4 separate regions of the Homo sapiens genome follow, and all the other regions are linked to region 4. The links are contacts of gene promoters, found by promoter capture Hi-C in blood cells and fetal thymus (Javierre and others, 2016). All regions are on one chromosome and are shown on one strand. The core of a region is centred on a gene start or on the middle of the fragment in contact, and the rest is flanking DNA. Distances in the headings are between cores, read along the strand shown. Region 1 holds the start of KRTAP9-3 (keratin associated protein 9-3). Region 2 has its middle 7.7 kb from the start of KRT37. Region 3 has its middle 15 kb from the start of KRTAP9-2. Region 4 holds the start of KRT23 (keratin 23).

What was found. The method cuts DNA at HindIII sites, captures the fragments that hold promoters and counts their contacts. A CHiCAGO score of 5 or more calls a contact.
Region 1: a fragment that was not itself captured here is called in contact with the fragment with the promoter of KRT23 in region 4 in 1 of 17 cell types (endothelial precursors); the score reaches 5.7 in endothelial precursors.
Region 2: a contact is called between a fragment that was not itself captured here and the fragment with the promoter of KRT23 in region 4, in 1 of 17 cell types (endothelial precursors). The highest score is 5.6, in endothelial precursors.
Region 3: a fragment that was not itself captured here is called in contact with the fragment with the promoter of KRT23 in region 4 in 1 of 17 cell types (endothelial precursors); the score reaches 8.0 in endothelial precursors.

The regions. Positions count from the first base shown.
Region 1 is chr17:41,230,493-41,233,881 of GRCh38, reverse strand. KRTAP9-3 (keratin associated protein 9-3) reads right to left here and starts at 1,433. Exons shown (of 1, transcript NM_031962.3): 1 at 428-1,433. The coding sequence starts at 1,380. The coding sequence ends at 901. The HindIII fragment of the contact is 5,484 bases long and covers 1-3,389 here.
Region 2 is chr17:41,430,580-41,433,933 of GRCh38, reverse strand. No RefSeq gene overlaps it. Among named protein-coding and RNA genes, the nearest start is that of KRT37, 7.7 kb to the right of the region's middle. The HindIII fragment of the contact is 2,364 bases long and covers 407-2,770 here.
Region 3 is chr17:41,209,904-41,213,252 of GRCh38, reverse strand. It overlaps the pseudogene KRTAP9-12P. Among named protein-coding and RNA genes, the nearest start is that of KRTAP9-2, 15 kb to the left of the region's middle. The HindIII fragment of the contact is 303 bases long and covers 1,100-1,402 here.
Region 4 is chr17:40,936,359-40,939,695 of GRCh38, reverse strand. It overlaps KRT23 (keratin 23), which reads left to right and starts at 2,050. Exons shown (of 9, transcript NM_015515.5): 1 at 2,050-2,350; 2 at 2,743-3,337. The coding sequence starts at 3,093. All of the region lies in intron 1 of LOC107985072 (a long non-coding RNA gene), which reads right to left. The HindIII fragment of the contact is 1,536 bases long and covers 961-2,496 here.

The DNA.
Region 1 (3,389 bases), core at 51-2,550, 290 kb before region 4:
ATCTCTGCATTCAGGGCAGCCATTAAATGCATATCATGCAGCCTTTGCTCACTGAGGTGTGGGGAACTACTTTGGGATTTTTTTGTGTGTGAACAAAAGTGTTATCTGCAAATATGTCAGATTATTCCTCTCATTGTTAAATAAACTCAAGTACATGTCTTGCTAGTGCTGACTTCCAGTGTCTTTTCTACTATATTGGGAGTTAAACGTAAGTGTCCTTGGGCAGAAAGAGAGGACCTCACCTTTGACCAGAGTCTGCCCTTTACTAGCTACATAACATCACACATTAAATTGTTCTCAGCTGAAAAAATGGAGTTAATAATACACGACCATCTGTTTTGAGAATCAAATTGGATAATACCTATGGTATGTGATATGTGTGTAAATCCCATATCAGGAATGCTTTCAAATAAAACAAAACACTATATGAGATGAAGATGGTTCAGAGTTTATTCAGAAACATATAGGTAAGAATCTCTGCTACCAGAGACATAACCCAAAGTTATCGTGAAAAGAAGAAAGAAGGATACAAGAACCATGAGAAGGATATTTAAAATGAAAATATAATTGCAAAGATGATTGATCAGTTGCAGAAACCTAAATTCCTTAGAAGCAAAGAATGAAGCTCTTGATTTTTGAGACAAAGCTGAGATCATGACTCCAAATTAAGAACAGACGAAGCTGGCACATGATCCACAAGGTGTAAGGAAAGAGGGAATGAGGATGAAGTATTCTGCCCTCCCTCAAGCAGATTCCCAAGATTTTAAACATGTAGAGAATTCATAAAAATTTGGGTGAGAGCATGGTGGCTGTCAGCAGCAAAGTAAATTAGTCCCTCAAAAGACAAGTCAGTTGAGCTGAAGGTTGTTGTGTGAGGATGGTAGTTCTCTTGGGAGTTGATTAGCAGCAAGAAGGCTGGCAGCAGCTGTACACACAGGTGGGCTGGAAACAAGTGGTCCTGCAGCAGGTGGTCTCACAGCAGGCTGGGCGGCAGCAGGGCTGGCAGCAGTTGGAGCCACAGCTCTGGTTTAGGCAACCAGGCAGACAAACACTTGTGGGGTGGTAGCAGGTTCTTCTGCAGTACACAGGTGCACAGGAGCTGCTCTGACCACAGCTGGACCCACAGCATGTGGGCTGGCAGCAGGGTGTGCTACAGCAGGAAGGCTGGCAGCAGCTGGTCACACAGATGGGCTGGCAGCAGGTGGTCCTACAGCAGGTGTTTTGACAGCAAGTTGGGTGGCAGCAAGGCTGGCAGCAGCTGGAAACACAGCAGGAGGGCTGACAGCAGGGTGTGCTGCTGCAGGTGGTCACAGTGGTGGGCTGCCAGCAGGTGGTCCTGCAGCAGGTAGGCTGACAGCAAGGGGAGCAACAGTGGGTCATGGTGTCAGGGATGGAGGGTGGGCTTCTGTTAAGAGGTGAGTTTCCCAAAATCTGATGACCCCTTGCAATCTGGACCTTTTATACACCTGGCCTCCAAAGTTTCCACCAATCAGCAGGACTTTTCCTTGTTGCTGTTTACATTGTTTTCCACAGTCCATTTGGGATTGTCAAAGGGGAAGTTGTTACTGAAATCTTATGAACCTTTTAAACTAAGGGTTTAATCTGTTTCTTAATTGTGAGTTACTCATAGAAAGTTTGTTTCAGATAAAAGGAAGCCCGTCTCATCATCAGCATCATTCCTGCTCTGACCATCATCTGGTCATGTGACAGTTCCTGTTGATCCGGGGGGCTCAGGAAGTTCTCTCTGGCCAGCCTCATGTTTGGCTGTATATAGACTTGGAAGTGTCTGTGGGGAGAAGCATGATGCTGATATATTTACAGTGACAAAATGAATCCATGCCTGGGCCCAAGACTATTCACCCACCAAATTCTGACTCAAGACTAACAGGCATCTCTTTGTGCCACCCACATCATCTGTGTCTTTCAGTTCTTTGAATGTCACTTGGGAAGACGGTGACTGCACAGTGTGTTCCATGCGACAGAGCAGATCGAGAACAGGTGGATGCAGAGAAATCTGCTGAGATTTAGACAGCATCAAGCAATGTATGCCCTAGGACGACCATTCATTCTGACTTGTCTGGGAGTGTGGGGATTTCCGGGATGAGAATGGAGGACTTTCTATCACGTAACTTCTTGAGATTCAGGCCAACCAGCATGTGCTCTGGCTCTAGCCCTAAACCTAGTTACTAGCAGTAACTAGAAGTAAGCGTTGAAATTCAGGCCAACCAGCATGTGCTGTGGCTCTAGCCCTAAACCTAGTTACTAGCAGTAACTAGAAGAAGAAGTAAGTAGAAGTAATTTCTTCTATTTCTTTTCAATGAAGGGATTAGATGAGTTGAGATGACACCTGATTCATCGTGGAGTTCTAACATGTTGAAAACATTGTCTAGGTATATCATTCACTTGAGAAGAATGCAAATTATTAATTTCCAACCTGATATAGTATTACATTGTAAATACATCTATGTCCCCATTACCAGGTTAGGAAATAGAAATTAATGCCATTCTCTCCCAATTATATCCGCTTACTCATTTCCAAACAGCTAATCACTCTATCAAGTTATAATCCAGTAGATGACTTTGGCTTTTTAAAATTTCCATGTGAATAAAAATTATAGTATTTGCTTCTCTGTTTCTTTGTTATAATCAAAAGGAATCGTTATCGCCTAGTCATTTTGGACTCTTCCCGTCAGCAGAGCAGCAGACAGAGAAAGGAGTTACTATTTGGTGAGGGGTAATTATCTTTAAGCCATATAGTGTAGCAGAATATATCTATAGCTCAGGATACTTAGTAAGTGTATTAACTTACCAGCACTGCCATAATAAATTACTGTAAACCAAGTGGCTTAAATTTATCTTTTCACAGTTCAGAAATTAAGGTTTTGGCAATGTTGTTTTCATCTGAAGCCTGTGAGGGAAGTACATGTTCCAGGTCTCTCTCCTTGACTTGTTGATGTCTATCATTTCCATGTGTGTTTGATATAATTTTTCTGTTATATGCATGCTGTCTCTGAATTTCCCCCTTTTATATAGACATCAGTCATATTTAATCAGAGGCCTAATTGTTTCCAATATGACCTTGCCTTATCACATAACACTTTAAATGATTCTATTTGAATATGAGTTTTGGGGGACACAAATTAACCCATAACACTGGAGAATCTCATAGTGTGTCCATGTCCAGTGATAACTACAAATCGGTAAGAACAGCAATCACAGTGGACAGTGGTATAGTAACTAGAGGCTCAGACAATTTAGGAAGGAAGTTATCAAGGCAGTTATCAGGCAGTTATCCAGACCAAGAAGAGTGCTGGCCAGCGGTGAAGGGAGAATAGAACTGGTGGTAATAAACGGAGACTGTGAATCTCAGGTGCACTGTACTATAGCAG
Region 2 (3,354 bases), core at 339-2,838, 490 kb before region 4:
CGGAGTTTAGAAGTCAGGGATTTTGTATCATTGGTGCAACATGCTATGGTTTGGCTTTATACTATGTCTATTCATGTACGCATGCAGGCATTCCCTCAGCACACAGTTACTGAGAATCACCATGCACGTGATACTGTGGAGGATAATACTGAGTATGACTTGCTCCAGAGCTGAGCTCATTTAGTCACTTCTGTTTTTATCGATTGAGTGCTTTGTTATGTCAGGTGATGTACTGGGAATTACAGAGATGAACAAGACAAAAGCAGTAAGACAAAATTCCTGCTTCCAAGGGACTTTCAAGAACACTAACAACAGAATGAAGAGGGTTACATCAAGGTAAACTAAGGGTCAATGTGAGTAGAGAGAAGAGGAATTGATTGAATGCTCAGTGAAGCTGGAGAAAGCTTCCCCTTGAAGGCATCTCTTGAGCTGAGAAATATAAAATCACCTTTCAAAATCAGAGTATTCAATACTACTGGATTTTTTTTTTTTTGAGATGGAGTATTTCTCTGTTGCTTAGGTTGGAGTGCAGCAACGCTACCTCGGCTCACTGTAACCTCCACTTCCCGAGTTCCAGCAATTCTCCTGCCTCAACCTCCAGAGTAGCTGGGACTACAGGCATGTGCCACCATGCTGAGCTAACTTTTGTATTTTAGTAGAGATGGGGTTTTGCTACTACTACTACTGCTACATGTTGGCCAGGCTTGTTTTGAACACCTGACAGGTGATCTGCCTGCCTCAGCCTCCCAAACTGCTGGGATTACAAGTGTGAGCCACCAGGCCCAGCCACAATACTATTGTATTTTTAATGAAGAAAATGAAACAGGGTTGTCAGTATTTCCCTATTTTACTGCACGTAATTCATGAAGTGGGCCAAATAAATAGTTCTACAATGACTTATTCAGAATTTATTATTTTCCCTAATTCCTAAATCATTCACTCTTCAAGTTCCCATGATTATGCTTTTCTCCTTTCTACTAACTGCACCTTTGCCCCATGATCATCCACAGCTTAACACCCATAGGAAATGGTCCCCTGAGAGACACAGAGGAATGGATTGAGGGGACATTGAGGGGAAATCCATAGGCTGAAGGAGGCACAAAACAGCAGAGATGGCTCCTGGCCTAACACCCCAAGGACTTCTATAGGGTACCCTTATATTTTTTATCCTTATACTTCTGTCTATGTAAGTATGTCTATAGGATTAAATTCCTATAGGCGGAAATTATTGGTCGATAGTGTATATGTGGGCATGGTGGCTCACACCTGTTATCCCAGCACTTTGGGAGGCCGAGGCGGGTGGATCATGAGGTCAGGAGATCGAGACCATCCAGGCCAACATGGTGAAACCTCGTCTCTACAAAAAACACAAAAATTAGCTGGGCATGGTGGCATGTGCTTGTAGTCCTAGCTACTCAGGAGGCTGAGGCAGGAGAATTGCTTGAACCCGGGAGGTGGAGGTTGCAGTGAGCTGAGATCATGCCACTGCATCCTAGCCTGGCAATATAGTGAGATTCCGTCTCAAAAAAAAAAAAAAAAAAGCATTTGTAATTTTAACAGATACTGCTGAACTATTTTGTAAAGAGGTTGCACAACTTATTCTTCCCCTCAACAGTGTATGAAAGTGCATGTTTTCTTTATTTTGCTACAATCATGACATTAATCTATTTTGTTTTATTTTACTTTATCATAGAAAGAACACCTAACATGAGAGCTACCCTCTTAATAAAATTTTAGGTGTACAATAAATTACTATGGACTCTGGGTACAATGCAGTACAGTAGATCTCTAGGCCTTACACATCTTGCTTGACTGGAACTTTATGTTCATTGAACAGTAACTTTCCATTTCCCCTTTTCCCACAGCCTCTGGAAACCACCATTCCACTCTTTGATTCTATGAATTTGCCTATTTTAAATACCTTGTATAAGCAGAATTATGCAGTATTTGTCTTTCTGTGATCGGCTTATTTCATTTAGCATAATGTCTTCAGGGTTGAATCTATTTTAGATACCTCATATAAGCAGAATCATGCAGTATTTGTCTTTCTGTGATTGGCTTATTTTATTTAGCATAACGTCTTCGAGGTTTATTCACGTTGCGTATTGCAGAATTTCGTCCTTTTTAAAGGCTGAATGGAATTCCAGTGTTTGCACATACCAATTTCTTTTTGTATTTATCTGTCAACGGACATTTAGGTAGTTTCCACATTCTGGCTATTGTGACTCCTGCTGCAATGACCACAGGAGTGTTAACATCTCTTTGAGATCCCAATTTCAATTCTTTTGGATAAATACCCTGAAGTGAGATTGTTGGCTCATATGGTAATTCTATTTTTAATTCTTTGAGGAATCTCCATACTGTTTTCCATAGTGGCTGCGTCATTTTGCATTTTCCCAACAGCGTGCAATGGTTCCAGCTCCTCTATATCCTCACCAATACTAGTTGTCTTTTTTTTTTTTTGATAGTAGCCATCCTGAGTGGTGTGAAGTGATGTCTCATGGCTTTGATCTGCATTTCCCTTATGGCTAGTGACTTTGAGCATTTTTTCATATACCTGATGGCCGTTTGTACGTCTACTTTAGAGAAATGTCTATAGAAATCCTTAGCCCATTTTTAAATTAAAAAAAATTATTTTTTACAGTTGAGTTGTAGGACTTCCTTATATATTTTGGAGGCTAACCCTTTATCAGATATATGATTTACAATTCTTTCTCCCATTCAGTAGGTTGTATTTTCACTCTGTTGTTTCTTTTGCTGTGCAAAAGCTTTTTAGTAAGACTAAACTTCTGATCTTTGCTAACTTAAATAAGTAAAAAATAAGTAATTTAATAAGCATTTTTGAATTATGAATGGTGTAAGCATGTAAACACACCAGTAACAGTAAAATCCATTAAAAAACACAACACTTATTTAGTGCTTACCATGTACTCTGTGCTAGACACTATTTTACGTGATTTACAGGTATGGATTTTTTTAAAACTTAAATCCATTAGCTAGGTGCTATTGTCACTCCATTGTGCATAAGCAGAATTTGAGGCACAGAGAGGTCAAGTCACCAGCCCAAGTTCACACAGCTAATAAATGATAGAACCAGAATCTGAACCCAGGCAGGCTGGATCCAAAATTCATTGTCTTAAACCTCTACTATGCTGCATTAAAGGATTTTGTAATAGGTCTTGGTATGAGGTAAATAAGGGGAAATTTCCTGCCTTAGCATGTAGATAAAGAAACTCTAGGATCAGGGAACAAAGGGGAGGGGAAATGAAGATAACTTTTTCAGTATTTAGTCTCTGATGACCTTAAGACCTGGGATAAGAATAAAGCAAACTAGGCAGGGCGCTGTGGCTCACT
Region 3 (3,349 bases), core at 2-2,501, 270 kb before region 4:
GCAGCCCCTAGACACACAACAGGCTGATTGGCAGCAGGGCTAGCAGCAGCTGGATCCATAGCTCTGGTTTAGGCAACCTGTCAGGCAGACACACATGGGGTGGTAGCAAGTTCTCCTGTAGTAGATGGGTGCACAGAAGCTGGGCTGGCAGCAGCTGGACCCACTGCCAGTTTGGCCGTAACAGCTGGACCCACAGCAGGTGGGCTGGCAGCAGGGTGTGCTGCAGCAGGAAGACTGGCAGCAGCTTGTCACACAGGTGTACTGGCAGCAAGTGGTCCTGCAGCAGGTGGCCTCACAGTAGGCTGGGCAGCAGGCAGCAGGGCTGGCAGCAGCTGGATCCACATATCTGGTCTAGGCAACTAGGCAGGCAGACACACATGGAATGGTAGCACGTTCTCTGGTAGACGGGTGCACAGCAGCTAGGTTGGCAGCAGGATGTGTTGCAGCAACTGGGGGGGTGGCAACAAGACTGGCAGCAGCTGGACACACAGCAGGTGGTCCTGCAGCACGTCGTAGGCTGGCAGCAAGGGGAGCAGCAGTGGGTCATGGCGTCAGGGGTGGAGGGTGCACTCCTGTTCAGAGGTGAGTTTCCTAGAGTTTGATAACGTTATTCAATCTGAACCTTTTATACATGGTACCCCAAAGTTTTGATTAATGAGCAGAACTTGTCTTTGATACTTCTCTAGTCTTTTGGGAAATGTCCCAAGGAGGAAGTTGTCTATTCAGTGCTGTGAATTTTCTTTGAGTAATTGATTTATTTGCTTTCTTAATTGACAAATAACCAGTCAGGACTATTTTCCTGAACTGAGAAATGAATCATTCTCCCTACCAATTAAGCACTGATCCTCATTTTTAAAGCTGAGTACAGTATTTGGTCATCTAACAGGTCCTATGTAGCTTAGTGAGATGTCAGGACAATTGTTAGTCACCATCTGTTTTTCCTTATTGCTATTTACTTTGGAAAGTACCTCTGAAGATAGGATGATGTTGAGTCATGGTGATGAGTTAAAAACCAAGTTTAGGGAGGGCTTGTGATGCCACCTGTAATGTAGAAGCTAGTATAAGATTTATCCTCCTGCTATAAACAATAATAAAAGCTTTGTAAATATATAAAACAACTGTTTGCAGATATTGGATGACAATCAGCTTTGGGTTATGATCCTTGAAGGAAGACACATGGGGTAAAAAAAGAAACACATGGGTTTGTATGTTTTCAAAATTGCTGCTGCAGCACATCCTGCTGCCAGTCCACCTGCTGCAGCAGCTGCAGCTGTTATGGCCAAATGCCAGAAGAAATAGAGTCCACATAGAGAGCAGAGGAGAGATAGGCGTTAAAGGGGTTTATCACAATTCCTTCTCTCAGTCTGAAATGTGATTTTTGATGGTTAAGTTTTCTAAAGCTTTATCCAGTTAAAATTATCAGTCATTTCTTTTCGAATAATAATATTTTTGTCTTGGTCAGGAGGTATTTATCTACCTAAAAATAAAAAAAATCACATAAATCATCTAGTGAGGATTTAAGATTTTTTTTGACCTTCAAGATATTGATACACCTGGAATTGATTTTTTTCCTACATGATGAGTGATCAGAATCCAAGTTCATCTTTTCCATGTAAATACTTTTCCATGTAAATACTGGAAACAGGTTTGATTATGATTCCTTTGATTATGGAACATTTTCAGCTTTATTGCTGGATATGTTCTCATTTTCATCCAGAATATTATTTATTTGTGTCTTCTTTACATTTCTTGATCAATCTTTTCAATGGCTTATCATTTATTGGTATTTTTTTTGAAAAAGAAATTTTGGCTTTGTTCATCTTCTCTGTGATGTCGTTTTTAACTAGTTCATTGATTTACATTTTATGCTATTTTGGTTGTTTTCCTTTTTCTTATTCACTTAGGTGAACACTTAGTTCATTTATTTTTAGGTTTTATTCTTGTTTAATATTTAAATATTAAAGGCTATTTAAAGTGTGTACATTTTATCAAAGATCATTTTATAACACCCCACAAGTCTTGATATGTAATATTTTCATTATAATTGAGTTACACATTTTTTCCTTAACATTAGAGATTCTTCCATTTTGGTCTTCCAAGTCAGTATATCTTCTGCAGCTTATCTCACTTATTGTGTACTTTAATGACTATATGCTCTATTATTAATTTAGTATCAGATATTATGCCTGCTTGTGTCTCCTACCCCATTATACATGTTTGTTTTTATTAATTTTTCATTTTGAAATAATTTCATACTCATAGAAAATTGTAAACACAGTACAAAGGATTCCCATATGCCTTCACTTGGATTCCTCAAATGTTAACATTTTACCATGCTTCTTTAACATTATTTCTATACATATATGTGTTACTACTGTTGGTTTTTAAAAGTAAGTTGCAGATAGAATTTCCCTTTATCACTAAATACCACTTTATCCCTATGTACTTCAGTGTGTGTTTCTTGTCACAGCCCAATGATCAAAACCAAAATGTTAATGCCGTTGCAGGATAGTCTCTGGTTGGTTCTTATTCATGTTGTGTGTGTGTGTGTTTTTGTATTTGTCTATATTGGTAATAGCTTCCTTTATGTCTTTAAATGCATTTATTATGTTTAGTTAAAACCCAGTTGAAGATTTGCTGACTGGGAAGATGGAGTGGACAGACTTTTCCATATTCTTTCTGCTAAGTACAACTAAAAATTCTGGATATTATATATAAAGCAAACACGAGAGGACTCTGAAAGGTGGAGTGAAGAAAGCAGCCAGGCTAGAAGCCTCAGGACTTAAGGAACAATAAGGTGGGGTTCTCTGGGTTTTCTTTGTGCTGCAAGTACCCCCCAGACTTGGAGCTTGAGAAGCCTGTAACTCTGAAACTCTAGTGGATGCACACACACACACACACACACACACACACACAGTTCCAATAAATGCTTCTCTCTACCTAAAGGGTCAGAAAAGAGGTGGCTTAGCAAGAAGAAAAACATTTAGATGGTATCTGCTGTGCTCCAGAAACAACTACAGCTTCACTGCCAATCACTCCAGTAAAAGCCGGGTGAGGAGATAGACTTCCATCCCTGAGAAGCTGTAATGAGTTTCCCTAACACCTCCCACTGAGTTAATGTCTGAGAAGGCCAAGTAGGGCTGGCAGACTAATCTCTGCCAGCCAGTAATGACCCCCGTCCCCAACAGACATAGACATAGAGTGCCAGTGTAGACCATGTGAAGGGCCGGAGTTCTCATCTCTGCTCAGCAGTAATGATGTGCTCCCCTACCTTGATTGTCAGCACAGGTTGAATAGGGGAACTAATCTACCTTCATGTGACAGTAATGAGGTAGCCCCTAGTCCCTTG
Region 4 (3,337 bases), core at 801-3,300:
CGCTTGAACCCGGGAGGTGGAGGTTGCAGTGAGCCACGATCACATCACTGCACTCCAGCCTGGGCGACAGGGCGAGACTCTGTCTCAAAAAAAAAAAAAAGAAGTTATGGAAAATTGGCTGGGCAGGGTGGCTCATGCCTGTAATCCCAGCACTTTGGGAGGCCAAGGCAGGCAGATCATGAGGTCAGGAGTTCAAGACCAGCCTGGCCAACATGGTGAAACCCCGTCTCTACTAAAAATACAAAAAATTAGCTGGGCATGGTGGTGCGCACCTGTAATCCTAGCTACTCGGGAGGCTGAGGCAGGAGAATCGCTTGAACCCAGGAGGCGGAGGTTGCAGTGAGTCAAGATTGCGCCATTGCACTCCAGCCTGGGTGACAGAGCAAAACTCCATCTTGAGAAAAAAAAAAAAAGAAGTTATGGGAAACCATCATATAACAGTACTAGAAGAGACTATTTCTCCCCAGTGCTCTCAGATCTCACCACCAGTTTTTCCTGGCCCTGGTCCTGCTATGACACAAGAAATCTTTTGCTCAAGGATAAGTCCTATAAATCAAAACTCCCACACATGGACATAAAATGAGACAGTGGCCAAATCTATGGGGTTGATAAGTCACTGCCACTCAGACATGCCTGAAATAATTAGAGAAGCATTAATTTCATTGTAGATTCTGGTGAGAGAATTTAGAAAAAGGCAGTGCAGCCCGGCCCTTGCACATGCTAAAGGTAAATGTTTTCTTCCTTGGTAAGTCTGGGTCCAGGCGAACAGGAACCAGAGCTGACCATAACTTTGATGACCAGGAACCGTCCACATCCACAGAACACTGGTTGCCACCACTCGCCAAACAAGTCTCTCTAGTTCCCTCATTTGCTCTATTTTTATCACTTGTCTCTTTTGTCTTTTTCTCATATCTGAGATGTAAGTGACTGTCGGCACTCTTTCTAAGCACTCTCCAAGCTTCCCTGAGGCTTGGAGGCTCATTTTTCCAGCTCGTGCACAGTGAAATAAAAAATATTCAGAGACTCTTCCCTGATAAGGTTTTGTTGTAAGACTGGGAGGAGCAGAGCTGGTGTGCTTTTGGGTGGCTTTATTTGTAATTGGAAAAGATTGGCCTTCATGGATGGTTAATCTATACCCAGGAGAGGCGTTTTCCTACTTTCTAGTTCTATAACTCACAGTCCTAAAAGGAGCAGAAGTTGATGGCATCAGGAGACCTGTGTTAAAATCCTGACTCTAAAAAGTTTATGATTGAGTCAACATACATTTGCAAAATACCACCAAGAAACCAGACTTTGGTGCTCAAAAATGGAAGACATAAACTCTGCTTTCAAGAAGCCTGCGGTCTCAGAAGGGTGTGGCAAATGCAGTATAATGGAGTGAAAGAACGGAGTGGACTTCATCCCAGGCACAGGAGGTGGCTGCGCCTGGCTAGGGGCTCCCAGCTTCCACCATGAGGTGGGATGCCAAGGTGTCTGCCCCTCTGGAGGACCTCGGCATCCAGAAGAGGCAGTTTCCTCCTAGAGGGTCACCCAACTCATGCAGGAGAATTCAGAAAATGATTGTTGAAGGAGGTAGCCCTTGAACTATAGAAGAGGTAGGGGTGAGTGACTTTCCAGGCAGGGAGGACAGCACAGACTCGGGCAGTGTCACCTATGAATTCATGTGCTCAATTACACTGTACATGCGAATCAGCTCTGGATCATTCATCCCTATGAGACCCTGATTCTTTGTCTGCAAAATGAAGACAACAACCCTTGCCTGGATACATAAAGAGTTGTGAGGATTCAATAAAGAATATAAAAGAGCTACACCAATTGGCAAGTCCTATTATTATGAAAGAGAAGTGTGGTACAGGACCTGTCAAGATTCAACCCAAGATAACAGTGCTATGTGGAGAAAGAATCTAGCCCTGGCTCTGCCACTAACCTCCCCACCACCATAGGCCTCAGCTTTCCTCATCTGTCCAATTAGTGGCTTGGAACCAGAAAGGCCAGAAGCCCTTCCTGCGCTGATATTTTATTTGTAAGTCCCCTTTAAATCCAACTGCCAGTAACTAGCACGTGGCTCCCGCCCCCAGACTGCTTCTTTATTCATTCCTAACCTTTACCTTGGCAGATGAAATATAAGATTCATCAACCACATTTGACAGCCCATGGCAGGTTTCCTGTTTTCCATCGTCCCTCTGCAGGTCACAGACACACAGAGCCCAGCCGTGGCAGGCTCAGCCGGGGTCCGGGGCTGCTAACAACGGCTACATTCCTCCCCCAGGGCCAAGGGAAATCCTGAGCGCAGGCCAGGGTTGTTTGGTTTTGAGGTGTGCTGGGATGAAAGGCACCCTGGAAGTGGAAGGTTCGGTCATTCATTAATTAATTACATCTATAATTGAGGGTTTGTTCTTAAGAGCGAGTCCTTTGAAAGTACTTTCCTTCAAACAGTGACTGCCACAAAGGCATCAGATATTCACCACCTTCTCGGCTGCCTCAGCACAGCAAGCTTTATTCTGGGACCTGAGATCCTGTTCTGAGCTGGCTTTCCCTTCTCCAGGCTCGCTCACCCTCCCTTTAGAGGTGGGGCTTATTGGGGGTGGAAAAAGGTGTGTGTATCTCTGTTGTTTAATGTCTGGTTTTTTGTTGCTGTTGTTGTTGTTTTGTTTTGGTTTTGGTTTTTGGTTTTTTTTAAGGAAATCTATACTACATCGAATATGCTTTCTTTTGGGTGGACTTTAACCTAACCCATTCCAGGTAAATGAACAATGGAAAAACTTCACGGCAAGATTAGAAAGATACCTGAGCCCAATACCCGCCTGATGTCGTGGGCCACACCTCCGGGTTACCAGGGGAAGGGAGGAAGCAAACTGTCATATTGATGTGGCTCTAAACAACAACAGTGTGCGAAGGCCCAGGGGCACTTTGGGATTGACCAAGAGGAAACACAAGTTGCACAATGATACAATCTTGTTGGTACAATTGTCAGAGAAGGGAACTCCCACAGCAAAGGCCATAAAACCATCCAGGGCAGTCTGGGGCGGCTCAGTTCTGCGGTGCCAGGGAGTGGAGCAGAGCTCAGCCCCGTCCCAAACACAGATGGGACCATGAACTCCGGACACAGCTTCAGCCAGACCCCCTCGGCCTCCTTCCATGGCGCCGGAGGTGGCTGGGGCCGGCCCAGGAGCTTCCCCAGGGCTCCCACCGTCCATGGCGGTGCGGGGGGAGCCCGCATCTCCCTGTCCTTCACCACGCGGAGCTGCCCACCCCCTGGAGGGTCTTGGGGTTCTGGAAGAAGCAGCCCCCTACTAGGCGGAAATGGGAAGGCCACCATGCAGAATCTCAACGACCG